Regions from separate parts of the Homo sapiens genome. Here region 1 is linked to region 2. The links are contacts of gene promoters, found by promoter capture Hi-C in blood cells and fetal thymus (Javierre and others, 2016). All regions are on one chromosome and are shown on one strand. The core of a region is centred on a gene start or on the middle of the fragment in contact, and the rest is flanking DNA. Distances in the headings are between cores, read along the strand shown. Region 1 has its middle 120 kb from the start of TACC1. Region 2 holds the start of LINC03042 (long intergenic non-protein coding RNA 3042).

Evidence for each region. The method cuts DNA at HindIII sites, captures the fragments that hold promoters and counts their contacts. A CHiCAGO score of 5 or more calls a contact.
Region 1: a fragment that was not itself captured here is called in contact with the fragment with the promoter of LINC03042 in region 2 in 1 of 17 cell types (M0 macrophages); the score reaches 5.7 in M0 macrophages.

The regions. Positions count from the first base shown.
Region 1 is chr8:38,667,639-38,674,776 of GRCh38, reverse strand. No RefSeq gene overlaps it. Among named protein-coding and RNA genes, the nearest start is that of TACC1, 120 kb to the left of the region's middle. The HindIII fragment of the contact is 3,250 bases long and covers 695-3,944 here.
Region 2 is chr8:38,523,484-38,530,479 of GRCh38, reverse strand. It overlaps LINC03042 (long intergenic non-protein coding RNA 3042), which reads left to right and starts at 1,818. Exons shown (of 3, transcript NR_167676.1): 1 at 1,818-2,157. RefSeq lists enhancers at 245-1,066, 1,140-2,107, 2,164-2,213, 1,975-2,269, 1,652-2,851 and 2 more. The HindIII fragment of the contact is 18,415 bases long and covers 1-6,996 here.

The DNA.
Region 1 (7,138 bases), core at 1,070-3,569, 140 kb before region 2:
TTTGGATTACCCATTTGGGTCCTAAATGCAATCATAGGTGTCCTTGTAGAGAAAGATTTGACACCAGAAGAAGAAAAGGCAAAGTAACCACAGAGGTGGAGATTGGAGTGCTGCAGCCTCCAGCCAAGCAAGGCCAGCAGCCACTGGAAGTTGGAAGACACAAGATCCTCCCCTGCCGCCTCCAGAGGGAGTGAGGCGCAAGCCCTCTCAACACCATGATCTCAGCTCAGTGATGCTGATTCTAGATTTCTTGTCTCCAGGACTATGAGAGCATACGTTTCTGTCATTTTAAGCCACCAAGCCAGTGGAAAATTGTTACGTCAACCACAGGAAACCAATACAGCAGTTAGGAAGATAGGGCCACAAAGGAGAGCTCCAGGGTTCCACATCACACAGGAGAGTCGCTCTGAGTGAGAATAAAGTACCACTTGTAGCTTTCTGCTTGTTGAAAGTGGAGTGGAAGTGAAGTGAAATGGAAATAAACATCATAAGCACTTATCCTGTGCTAACAACTGGCTGGGCATCCAAAATGCATTATCTCATTTAAATTTTATAACCACCTCTTAAGATAAGTTTTCTTATCCTTTTTTTTTTTTTTGTAGGCAAGGAGATTAAAGTGCAGAGTGATTAGGAACCACAGTGATCATGGAAATGGAATTTTGAAGTCCCATCCATCTATCTCCAGAGTGAAGCTTCTGTTCACACCATCAGGTGACTCTGAGGCTCAGATGATGAATAGGATCACAGCCTGGGCATGGAAGGGGATGGCAGAAGTTGGAGTAGGGAGGAGACTAATATCTTAATAAATGCTAAGCTCTTCGACTGAACTTGAGACCCCCTGTGTGTGCTTTGAAAGGGTGGGAGGGGAGTGTTGGGTCCTTCACCTGAAAGGGTTTCAGGGACAGTGGTCTCATCAGGGAAAAACCAAGTTTGTTATGACAAGGAAGCAGATAGGACACATTCCAGAAAAGGCTAAGGATGCAGAGAAGTTTCTTGGCTACGAAACGGGATATTGGAGAGGGTACAGTGAAAGCCATCAGAAAGGCAGACACTCTGAAAGCCAGCAAAATGGCCAAAGGGTGGCATGGAAATACTCACTATAAACCCATAGAAATGATTTATAGATAAAAGAAAACTCTTAAAATGCATGGACAACAACAACAAAACACAAACAACCTAATTTAAAAATGGGCAAAGGACTTGAATAGACATTTTCTCCAAAGAATATATACAAATGGCCAATAAGCACATGAAAAGATACTAGACTAGTCATTAGAGAAATGCAAACTAAAACCACAGTGAGATACCACTTCATATCCATTAGAATGATTGCTATCCAAAAAAACCCAAAAAAACAAAAAACCCACAGAAAATAAGTGTTGGTGAGGATGTGGAGAAATTGAAAATTGGAACCCTTGTACACATTTGGTAGGAATGTAAAATAGTGCAGCTGCTATGGAAAACAGCATGGCAGTTCTTCAAAAAATTAAAAATAGAATTACTATATGATCCAGCAATTCTACTTCTGGGTATATACCCAAAAGGATTGAAAGCAGGGATTCAAAGAGATATTTGTATACCATGTTGTAGAACAGCATTATTTGAAATAGCCAAAAAGTTAATGAACCCAAGTGTTCATCAACAGAAGAATGAATGTACAAAATGTGGTATTTATGTATATGAAATGAACCATTATTCAGTCTTAAAAAGGAAGGAAATTCTAACATGTGCTGTAACATGGAGAAGACATTTTGCTGAGTGAAATAAGCCAATCACAAAAGGGCAAATACTGAATGAGACTGGGTATCAAGAGCACTCAAATCCACAGAGACTGAAAGCCAGGGGCTAGGGGAGGGGAAATAGGGAGTTATCATTTAATGGTACAGAGTTTCAGTTTTGCCGGATGAGAAGAGTTCTGTGGCTCGATGGTGGTGATGGCTGCACAACCGCACGAATGCACCTAATGCCACTGAACTGTACATTTTAAAATGGCTAAGATGGTACTTTTTTTTTTGAGACAGGGGCTCACTCTGTCACCCAGGCTAAAGTGCAGTGGTGTGATCACAGCTCACTGCAGTCTTGACCTCCCAGATTCAAGTGATCCTCCCACCTCAGCCCCACAAGTAGCTGGGACTACAGACGTATGCCACCAAGCCCAGCTAATTTTTAATTTTTTTGTAGAGATGGGGTCTCACTATGTTGCCAGGCTGGTCTCAAAATCCTGGGCTTAAGCATTCTGCCCTCCTCGACCTCCCAAAGTACTGGGATTACAGGCGTGAGCTATGATGCCTGGCCAAGATGGTACATTTTATGTTATGTGTATCTTAACACAATTTTTGAAAATAAAATTAAATAAGTTAACAAATAACGCATGGATGAGCTTGTAAGGTAGAAAAGGAAGTCCCCAGATGCTGAAGTGAAGAGGAAGCTGAGAGCTGAAAACAGTGGTCGTGGGGAGACAATCAGGTCCAGTTATGGCCAAAGGCTTGGCTTTTAACACCCATGCAGGGACAGGAGATGAGGCCTCATGCCTGGATAAAGTGACTGGTTGGAACTGAGTCCCCTACATAAAACCCAGATGCTCTGAGAAAAGCCAACCATCAATCCAGAAAGATATTAAGGAAGCTCATCTCTACCCTGGCTCCAGCTGGGGGGAAGAACAGACCCCTGTGAAAAATCAAAACCCCAGCCATGTGCTTGGCCCAAGTTTAGAGTCCAAATATCTACTAACTGCATCAGAAGGGAACCCCAAGCCAAGAAATTAACATAAAATTGGTTCTTAGCTCCAGGATTTGACACAGCCAAAGCCAGTGCAGCCCTGCAGAGCTGGAGGATGACCTGAGCATGGAACACACAAAGGAAAGAGGCAGAGGACAGGCAGAGCCCTGAGAAGCCACATCCTGGCTTCTGAGCTGCTTTCCAAAGGCCCTGAGTTTGACAGAAATCCAAACATGTCTCGTCTCAGACGCTTTCCCCTTTAATTTTCAAATTGATGTATATTTTAAGAGAAATTTAATCCATGTGTCTCTGAATCATGTACAACAAACTCCTCTAACAGTCACTCCATGTTGGGAGCTTGGGAGATTTTTGTGAACTTGGAACAACTTGGTACAAGATGCTCTTTTTTAAAAAAAGAAAAAGATTCTGTTTCCAGTGTCTGTCTAGTTCTCCACCCCAGATCCAAGACTTTTGTCAGATGCTAGGAACCTGCTGCACGAGGACTGCGCACTCCTCTTCCTCCTCTTCCTTGGTGGTCAAAGGGAACTCATCCAAGCCACAGGGGTGCAGGGCTTGGCTCTGTCAAAGAAGCAGTGTGGTCCTTGAAGCTAGCACTACCAGGGCTTTCATTTGGTTCTCCAGCACAATGGCTGTATTTGAGGAGGGCTGGCAAACAGAACACCAGTTTCCAAACCCTGCTTCCTCAGGTGGCCAAAGTGCTCCACCCAAACTCATTATACGGTGGCAAACCTCACAGCCCCTTGTTGGTGGTTCATACTCTCCTGCTAACGGGAGCCTAGCTCCGAAAGCCTCCAGGAGAGGAAAGTATTCAGCCAGGATGGGCTGCGCAGTATTTCCCTCCAATCCTTCTCAAGTTCTGCTGGCTGAGAGCACAAGGTCCCAGCTGACCCCACTGCTTCAGCAGTCCTGCGGTGTACCTCATTTCCAGGAATCCTACCCAGCCCTGGGGCAGAGAGTCTTGTCACGTATTTACCCACAGACGCTCCAACATGTAGAACCTCTGGAAAGAATCTCCAGGCTGGGATTTTGGACCCCTACAGTTTCTACATTTCCTTTGTAACTGGTAATGATATACGTGTCCGTTTTTTTTCAGTGGTGCAATCATAGTTCACCGCGGCCTCAAACTCTGGGCTCAAGCGATCCTCCCACTTCAGCCTCCTGAGTAACTGGGATAATAGGCATGTGCCATCATGCCCTGATAAGCTTTATTTTTAAAATTTTTTTGTAGAGATAGGGTCTTGCTATGTTGTCCAGGCTGGTCTCCAACTCCTGACCTCAAGCAATCCTCCTGCCTTGGCCTCCCAAAGTGCTAGGATTGCAGGCATGAGCCATCACACCTGGCCAGGTGTTTCTTTAAAGTTTATCTTCTTTCTTACTTTCACATTCTTGCTCATTTAACTTTTTAGCTGATTTTGTGCTATGGCTGCAAAGGCCAATTAAAAGTAAGAGTCAAACCTTTTCACGTAAAACCATCATAGGAGCTAAAAACCACCTCAGGGCTGACAGGTTTTTGACATAATTTTCTCTCCTTCAGGGTTGGAGTGACTCAAAGTAACTTGCTTTTGTAGCATAATTTTAGGGGCGACCTTCTTCTCAGTAATCTCCCCTAGTGGGCCCTGCTATTCATTCCATTGCTGTTATTAGCAATCCCGCCAGTGTTAAGATTACTGGTAGAGGAAAAGAAGGAAATTTGAAATACTCTTGGAAATTAAAGCACACCAAGTCCAAAGCAGCTTGAGGCAAATGAGTCAACTGGAGCAGGAAGTCCAGCGAGAGTGATTTAGCAGAAAGAATTCTGGGTTCGGAGTCCAAAGAAGAGGGGTTTAATTCTGACTCAACCCCCTTTGTCTGCCTTACTTCTCTCATCTCTAAATGGGCGACAACTATCCCTGTCTCATTATAAGGCTGAGATTAAGACTTAAAATGTTTTGGACGTGGTAGCTCATGCCTGTAATCCCAGCACTTCGAGAGGCCAAGTTGGGCGGATCACTTAAGCTCAAGACCAGCCTGGGCAACATAGAGGAAACTCTGTCTCTACCAAAAATACTAAAAATTATCCGGGCATGGTGACAAGCACCTGTAATCCCAGCTACTTGGGAGGCTGAGGTGGGAGGATTGGGTGAGCCCAAGAGGTAAAGGCTGCAGCGAGCTGAGATAGTGCCATTACACTCCAGCCTGGGCAGCAGAGTGACACCCTGTCTCAAAGAAATAAAATAAAATAAAATATTTTAAATGTGTGTGGTTCGTGGGGTGGTCCGTGAGCCTTTTCTGTAATGACTCTGAATATCAGGACATAATGAGAGCAGTGAGCATGGGCTCAGGAAGGATGGAGCTCCAGGATCTGCCAGAGCCCACACTGTGCTGAGCCCCAATGAACTCTCTGAGGGCTGGTCTCCTATTGAGACAGCAGGGACCCCCACTCTTAGTGGCCTGCATGCCTCCACCACCCCCAAGCATGGAAATAAAAGAAAGTCTTAAGTTTCTTCAAGGAAAATTCCAGACACCGAACTAGTCCTGAGAAGTAAATGAGCAGTATGCTAAGCAAGAAGGTAATAGTAGCCTAAAACAATAGCAATGAAGCTAGAATTGTAGGATATTTGGTTCCCCTGTAGAAACTAAACATAACATCTTTTTTTCTTTTTTTTAAATTTAATTTTATTTTACGTTCTGGGGTACATGTGCAGGATGTGCATGTTTGTTACACAGGTAAACATGTACCATGGTGATTTGCTGCACTTATGAACCCATCACCTAGGTTTTAAGCCCCACATGCATTAGCTATTTTTCCTGATGCTCTCCCTCCCCTCAACAACCCTGACAGGCCCCAGTGTGTGTTGTTCCCCTCCTTTTGTCTATGTGTTCACATTGTTCCGCTCCCACATGTAAGTGAGAACATGTGGTGTTTGGTTTTCTGTTCCTGTATCAGTTTGCTGAGGATAATGGCTTCCAACTCCATCCATGTCCCTGCAAAGGACATGATTTCATTCCTTTTATGGCTGCATAGTATTCCATGGTGTAGGTGTACCACATTTTCTTTATCCAATCTATGATCGATGGGCGTTTGGGTTGATTCCATGTCTTTGCTATTGTGAATAGTGCTGCAATGAACATACACGTGCATGTATCTTTATAACAGAATGATTTATATTCCTTTGGGTATATCCTAGTAATGAGATTGCTGGGTCAAATGGTATTTCAGGTTCTAGGTCTTTGAGGAATAGCCACACCGTCTTCCACAATGGTTGATTTACATTCCCACCAATGGTGTAAAAGCGTTCCTATCTCTCTACAGCCTCACCAGCAACTGTTGTTTCTTGACTTTTTAATAATCGCCATTCTGACTGGCGTGAGATGGTATCTCACTGTGTTTTGATTTGCATTTCTCTAAGGATCAGTGATAAACAAAACATCTTAACATACATTTCTGAGTTGTGTTTCAGAAACCTGGACCTCTGCCCAATAGATCTGCCATTATGTAGACCTCAGATAAGGGGGCACTGAAGATTGGAGTCAGACCATGGTTCTTTGTTCTAACTTTCTTTCCGAGGGGCCTTGGGGGGGGGGGCACACCCATCAGCTGGAGCTAACATTCTGTTCTGCTGAGCCCAAATTTTAAAATAAAGCTTCTTTTCCTTAACCAATTGCTAATCAGAAAAATCTTTGAATCTACCTATGGCCTATAAGCCCCCGTTTCAAGATATCCCACCCTTTTAAGCCAAAACCAATGTGTAACCTCCAGGTATTGCTTTATGATTTTGCCAGTAACTTCTAATTTCCTGAAATTTATGCTTGCCTTTAAAAACCCTTACCCATGAGCCATTGAGGAGGTCAGATTTCGGGGTTGGCTGCCTGGTCCTCCTTGCTTCGGTCGCTGCAAATAAATACCTTCCTTTCTTCCCCTGCAAACCTCAATGTGGATATCTGTTCTTATTGCACCAGCAAGCAGAGCCCAGTTCAGTAAGAGTCTGAGTGCCCAAGGCATCTTGCTGGTCTGCCAGCCTTCCCCATGATGATGCCTGAGAACTGAGAAAGGACTGAGTGTGTGTCCTTTCAACACCCTTCAAGAACACCCAGAGCCTGTCTGGAGCAGCCCATCAGCCCTGGGTTTCCTCAAACATGGCCCATATGGGTCCATTCTCTATCTTGGCTCTTGGGTGAATGGCTTGGAGAGTGGGCTGGACTGTTGGAAGCTCCTGGGTGGCATTTTAATGAAGACTGTTATACTTCAGGTGTAACTTTTTTTTTTGAGATGAGTTTCACTCTTGTTGCCCAGGCTGGAGTGCAATGGCGTGATCTCGGCTCACCACAACCTCCACCTCCCGGGTTGAAGAGATACTCCCACCTCAGCCTCCCAAGTAGCTGAGATTACAGGCATGCACCACCACACCTGGCTAATTTT
Region 2 (6,996 bases), core at 569-3,068:
AATGCCTACCCCATAAAAGGTTTTGTAAAAATTAATTAATATTGTAGAAAAATGCTTAGAACCGTGTCTGATGCATAGTACATGCTATGTGTGTTAAATATTTAACTGACAGTTAAGGCCAGACACATTGGCAAAGTAACCTTAAATCCAAAAACAGCAGACCAATTGTAAGGAAAGGGCTAACTGGAAATTTTTATAAGTCTGTTTGCTGAAGAAGCCTTTTCCAGATTTTTTTTTTTTTTTTTTTTTGAGACAGAGTCTCGCTCTGTTGCCCAGGCTGAAGTGCATGGTGCGATCTTGGCTCACTGCACCTCTGCCTCCTGGGTTCAAATGATTCTACTGCCTCAGCTTCCTGAGTAGCTGGGATTACAGGCACGCGCCACCACGCTGGGCTAATTTTTGTATTTTTAGTAGAGACAGGGGTTTCACTGTTGGTCAGGCTGGTCTCGAACTCCTGACCTCAGGTGATCCACCATCCTCAGCCTCCCAAAGTGCTGAGATTACAGGCGTGAGCCACTGCACCTGGCGCCTTTTCCAGATTTGAAGTTGCAGGGAGAGCTGAGGATATTCACAGGGCAAGGACTTGAGGCAGAGAGACGAAGACTCGGGTCTGCCAAAGCAAGGTCATTCCCTCTGGATTCTAGTTCTTCAGATGGATAGAATGAGGTCAAAGATAAAGCTCTCACCCAAGCAGGAGGAAAAAAACGCTCTCAAGGATTGCCAGACTCTAAAAGTTTCAGAGTTGAAAAGGGCATTTCAAGCTATAAGCAGCCAGCCAAGAGCTAGGCACAGGGTGTCTCAGTTCTTGGCATTGCTGGGCCAGCATCTATACTTAGGGAAAATCCACATGGAAGGACCCCTTCTCCTCTCTCCAGGAAAACACTCAGCTTAATGACAGCTGGGTCCAGAGCAGGGGCCTAGCAAGTCCTTGTCTGGGCCTCTGGTGCCGGAGTCAAAGGAGGTCCTGATCCAGCCTTGGGATTCCAGCAAGGACTTTACCCCATATTCAGGAGGGGAATCTACAGGTCTCCCTCAAAGACCCTCAGGACATTCTGTGGGCAGCCCCTCCACCATCTCCTCGCTGCTGTTCAAATTCTCACTTTTATTTGTGTGCCACTTTTAATTTGTCAAAGCACTGTCACATCTACTAGCTCACCTGATCTATGCCACCACATCAGAGGATACAGAAAGGTGGTATTAGGACATCTGACAGCCAAGGAAGCAGAGACTCCAGTGGTTAATGTCTAGCCCAGGACCACAGCTACTAGCAGAGGCTACACCTATACCCCTGACTTCACATCACACTCTGCCACACTCCCTCTCCTGTGTGAGGGCTCCCCCAGGAAAAGAGGAAAGACAGGAGCTATTCTAGGCAAAGTAACCTTAAATCTGAAAGCAGAAGATGAATTGCAAGGAAGTGCAGCTCCAGGACGTGTTCCCCTATCTTCCCATCAGAACTCAGCCAGCAGCCATGGACACAGGCCTCTCTTTCCTCTGCACTGCTTCCCCACCCTGGTTCCCGCTCTGGGGTAGGTCCCTCCCAGACCATTATGGCTGGGACGTGCAGCATCTTTTTTCTCTGCTTCTCCAGTAACAGCTGGTTCTGCTCAACTCCCAAAGATGATTTTCAAGAACCCCAACACTACTATCTGCCTGGGCTGCCAGAAAGAGAAAGGGCACCCTCAGAGACACTGAAGACCACCCTCCAGAAGCCGCCAGCACTTTCTATCATGTGACTAGCTCTGGGTGCTCCTTATCTAGCGAAAGGGGCTGGCTCAAATGGCACAGATATTGAAGATCTTCCTGAAGAAGACAGGAAGAGATGCTCAGGTCAGGGAGGGAATGAGACCCCTGGGGAAGGGACTCCTCCCAGCTGAGGAGTTGATTAGAAGCAATCTTGGAGTTGGCAGGAGCCTTAGAGACTGCCTGAGCCAGTCCGGGAAGCTGGCTGAGGAGCTTGGGAGCAAGAGACTAAAACCAGCCAAGTTTGGGACAGAAGGGAAGGAAAGGGTTGAGCAGCGAACAGAGAGACAAAGAACAGGCAGTTCCAAAGAGCCAAGAATGCAAATCATTTGCAGACGCCGCTGGCGAGAGCCTCCACCAAGGCTGCTGTGGGGGTGCCTGATGCCACGAGCACAGCCACTTCTACACGTCACGGTGAGCGTGAGCCCATGCATGTGAGTGTCCCCGCTGAGTCATTCCATGTGTGTAATGATTGTGTCAGTTGTGAGTCACCAATTGTGTGTCAGTCAGGGCGGGGTGTGTGTGTGCTCAGTGCACAAGCACGTGAGGGCTGCCAGTGCCCAGAGTGACAGTGGAATGTGAATGAGAGCCAGAGAACCCGAGGAGCTCAGAGCACTCCCAGGGGGAAGCTGTGTTTAAAGGGCACCACGCTTCATTCACACCGTACATCACACACCACATTTCTGAACACGTTCCAGAGAAAGCCATCTGTGCCCGCTTCCTGCTGAAACCCCCTATGGAGCAGCAGTGCTGAATTCTTCAGGCTCACGGGGTTGTTATCAGAGTCAGAGATGGCCACAATCTTAGAATCCTGCATTTCAAGCCCTTCGTTTTGCAGAGGGAGGAACTGTGGCAGAGAAAGCTGACACAATGGTCCCAGAGTCACAGAGCTAGCTGGTAGAAAAGCCAGGTGTGGACCCAGGTGTCTGTCCAGACTTCCCTGCCCAGGACTCGGTATGTCAGCACAAAGTGGGTCCTTTTTCCTTTTTTCAGCAGGGATGTGATGACATCACTTCTTTTAACTAAAATGCACCCAGATCTTCCCATGAAATGAAACCCTGATGTCACGTCCTAAAGGCTGGATTTGATGAATAGCCCAAAAGGCAAAGTTGGGGCATCTCTGGCCAGACGGTTCTAGACTGAGAGTCATTTGACCTATTTTCCAAGAGCCTTGCCCCACCCAGGTCAGGAGGAGTCCACAGGGAGACCCATTCTTAGGTCTCTAGGTCCAAGATTGGCCAGGCACTTTGGCAGCCTTGATGCTGTGTGATTCAGAAGCTGCTTATGAGATGTTTGCGGATGTCTCACACAGGACTCCTGACTCGTCATCCTGCCACCTTCCTGGTGGCCATTTCACAGCTCAATTTCTCCTGCCCCACAACAATGAAAAAATAAATGAAAGTAGGGGATTTATTTTAGCAGTTTTCAAATTGAGTATCTCAAAGGGTTTAATAGGTAAAGAGCCTAACCCTATTAACTAGTAAGTTGAGGTTTGGGGATTATCTGTTTCAATTACCCATTCCATTCATTCTTCTCAGATGGCTCAGAGTTGACCTGAACTTCAAAGGGATCACTTCAACCACTTATTTCATAATAATTATTTCATAATAATTAAGTAGTTACTATATACACAGCACTGTTGAGGCCATTCAATAGGCACAGACACTGCCCTACATCCCTGGAGAGCAGAGATTTATTATCTCATTTATCAGAACTTCAAAGCCCTTTCACTCCAATTACAGCTTGTCACTGACCATGGAGGCGGCTGAGGTGCTCAGGGCACATGAGGCAAGGAGAATGGGAGGGGCAGAGAAATCACTGCTCCAGACTAGATCTGGAGTGGAGTGGTCTTACATTTGGGCCCAGGTTCTACATTCATAAACTGGTGCTTTTCCCAACAGGGCTCTGCTAAAAACATGCCCTGGAAAGGGAGGTAAAAGGATGCCTTCTCAGCCGAGCGCGGTGGCTCACACCTGTAATCCCAGCACTTTGGGAGGCTGAGGGGGGGGTGGATCACCTGAGATCAGGAGTTCGAGACCAGCCTGACCAACATGGTGAAACCCCGTCTGCACTAAAAATACAAAAATTAGTCAGGTGTGGTGGCGCGCACACCTGTAATCCAAGCTACTCAGGAGGCTGAGGCAGGAGAATCGCTTGAACCTGGGAGGCGGAAGTTGCAGTGAGCTGAGATCGCGCCACTGCACTCTAGCCTGATTTTTTGAGACTCTGCCTCAAAAAAAAAAAAAAAGGATGCTTTCTCGTGTGGCAGACTGACAGACAGATTAAGGGTTGATATAGTAAGTGTCCTTCATATATGACACATGGGCCAAAAGAGTAGAATCACCAAATGTTTCCTTGAATATAAAAAAATATATTTGCAAGGGTGGTTATGTCAGCATTATGTGTAATTGCAGAAAGCTATAAAGGACCTGAAAAATCCATTGATAGGACATCAGTTAAATAAATCAATCATGGTACAACCATACACTGGCAGATAAGCAACTATAAAGAAGGAGTTAGATCTACCTACATTGACCCAAAGAGAGGCACAGGATTATTAGGTTTAAAAAAAGGAAAAGAGGCCGGGCACAGTGGCTCACTCCTATAATCCCTGCAGAGGCAGGAGGATCACTTGAGCCCAGGAGGTCAAGGCTGCAGTGAGCTATGATTGCGTCACTACACTCCAGCCTAGGTGACAGAGCCAGATAAAAGAAAGAGAGAGAAAGAAAAGAAAGAGAAAGAAAGAGAGAGAGGGAAGGAAGGAAGGAAGGAAGGAAGGAAGGAAGGAAGGAAGGAAGGAAGGAAGGAAGGAAGGAAGGAAGGGGAAGGGAAGGGAAGGGAAGGGAAAGGAAGGAAGGAAGGAAGGGGAAGGGAAGGGAAGGGAAGGGAAACGAAGGAAGGAAGAAAGAAAGGAAGGAAAGAAAGGTCGGGCTCGGTGGCTCACGCCTGTAATCCCAGCACTTTGGGAGGCCGAGGCGGGCGGATCACCTGAGGTCAGGAGTCCGAGACCAGCCTGACCAATATGGAGAAACCCTGTCTCTACTAAAAATACAAAATTAGCCGGGTGTGGTGGCGCATGCCTGTAATCCCAGCTACTCCGGAGGCTGAGGCAGGAGAATCACTTGAACCCGGGAGGCGAAGGTTTTGCGGTGAGCTGAGATCATGCTACTGCACACCAGCATGCCAGCCTGGGCGACAGAGCGGGACTCCGTCAAAAAAAAAAAAGAAAGAAAGAAAGAGAGAGAAAAGAAAAGAAAGAGCAAGGAACAGAATATGATCTTATTTTGCATTAAAAAATTAAAAGAGGTATCCTATAAGTAAATACGTATGTTTATATATTTGCATAAGTAAAAAAGAAAATAAGAAAATGTATACAAGTGGGAAAATGTGTAGTATATAAAAAATGTAGAGGGATACACGTGAAGCTGGTTATAATGTTTACTTCAGAGGGTGGGGTTAAAATGGGTAAGAAAATTAATATTTTGTATACATGTTTTGCCTTATCCATATAAGTTACAAATATGGATAAGTCAAAACATATTTAAGGCTTATACATACAAACTTTATACTTTATAAAGTTTATATTTATAAATATAATTTTTATATTTATAAATATTTATAAATATATAAATTTATAAATATATTTATAAATATAAACTTATATTAAATATATTAATAAACTTATAAACATATATATAACTTAAGAATAAAATGTATTACAAAAATAAAGAATAGACAAAAGGGGCTTGCAGATGCTGCCTGGCCACACTCATCCTTGGCGCTTGCCCCCATGGAGGCCTCATCTACTGTGACACTTGGAGAGCTGGCAGCCATCACTCAAGAAATCAGGACACATTTGGCCTCTGCTGCAGCATCAGGGAACAAAACAAGGACTAAGGCTGTCAGTTCTCAAGAAAAATACTGATGTGCATAATCGTATGTGACATAAATTTATTCAGTGACTTTGAGATATCTTACTCTAAAGAGATAAAATTAATTAAAACTAGTGCAAATTTCTGGCAACAGTATTCCAACTCCCCATTATTTATTGAGGGCATTGAAAATTGGAACACATCACAGATCCTTAAGTCATTCTCTGAATCCGGAGGAGAAAAGGGGAAGGCAGAGAGCACGCACCGTATGTGCCAGGCACTGGGCTGAGTGCTGCGCCTACACTATCCCACCTGATGCTTGCAATAACCCTGCAAGGCAGGAGTAAAAGGAACACACACATACACAAATACACTGACACACACACTCACACACATGATCACACACATACTCATACACTCACACTCAAGCATGCACTAGAAAATACAGAACAAAGCAAGCATTGGCAACTAATAGAAGTATAGTGCTGGCTAAGCACAATGGCTCACATCTATAATCCCGGAGCTTTAGGCTAGGAGTTCAAGACCTGGGCAACATAGCAAGATGCCATCTCTACAAAACATTTTTTAAATAAAAATCTTTTATTTTTCTTCAGATGGAGTCTCGCTCTGTCACCCAGGCTGGAGCCCAGTGGCGCGATCTCAGCTCACTGCAACCTCCACCTCCCAGGCTCAAGTGAGTCTCATGCCTCAGCCTCCCAAGTAGCTGAGATTACAGGTGTGAGGCACCACGCCTAGCTAATTTTATATTTTTAGTAGAGATGGGGTTTTGCCATGTTGGCCAAGCTAGTCTCAAACTCCTGACCTCAAGTGATCTGCCCGCCTTGGCCTCCCAAAATGCTGGGATTACAGGCTTGAGCCACCACACCTGACCTAAATAAAAATCATTTTTAAAAACAGGTATAGTGCCTCAGGGCTCAAGAAAGCAATACCCCTATTGCTGTATGGTAAACCGCAGGCAAGGCTACTGATCAGACCAGGGTAGTAGTAATTCCAGGGTTCTTTGCACACTTAGCCAGGAGACTGGCTAGCTCAGCACTGCCTGGGTTCGCTTTATCCTTTTTACCGCTCTAAAGCTCTGAGAGGCGGGACCTAAGCCTAAAAGGAAGTGAAATGAGGCAGCACTCTCTTCACTGCAAGTGATTGAAAACTAACTCAATCCAGCAAGGCAGCAAATTATTTGGCTCTCATAACTAAAAATGTCCATGAGTAGATGGCTTCTGGCTCAGTGGGATCAGGGGTCAGCTAATATCAACCAAGACTCATTCAGTCCCTTCATTTCTTCTGCATTGGCTCCATTTTTCAAGCAGGCTCTTTTGAGAGAGCAGCAAAGATGGCCCCGGTAATTCCATGTTACTTGCTG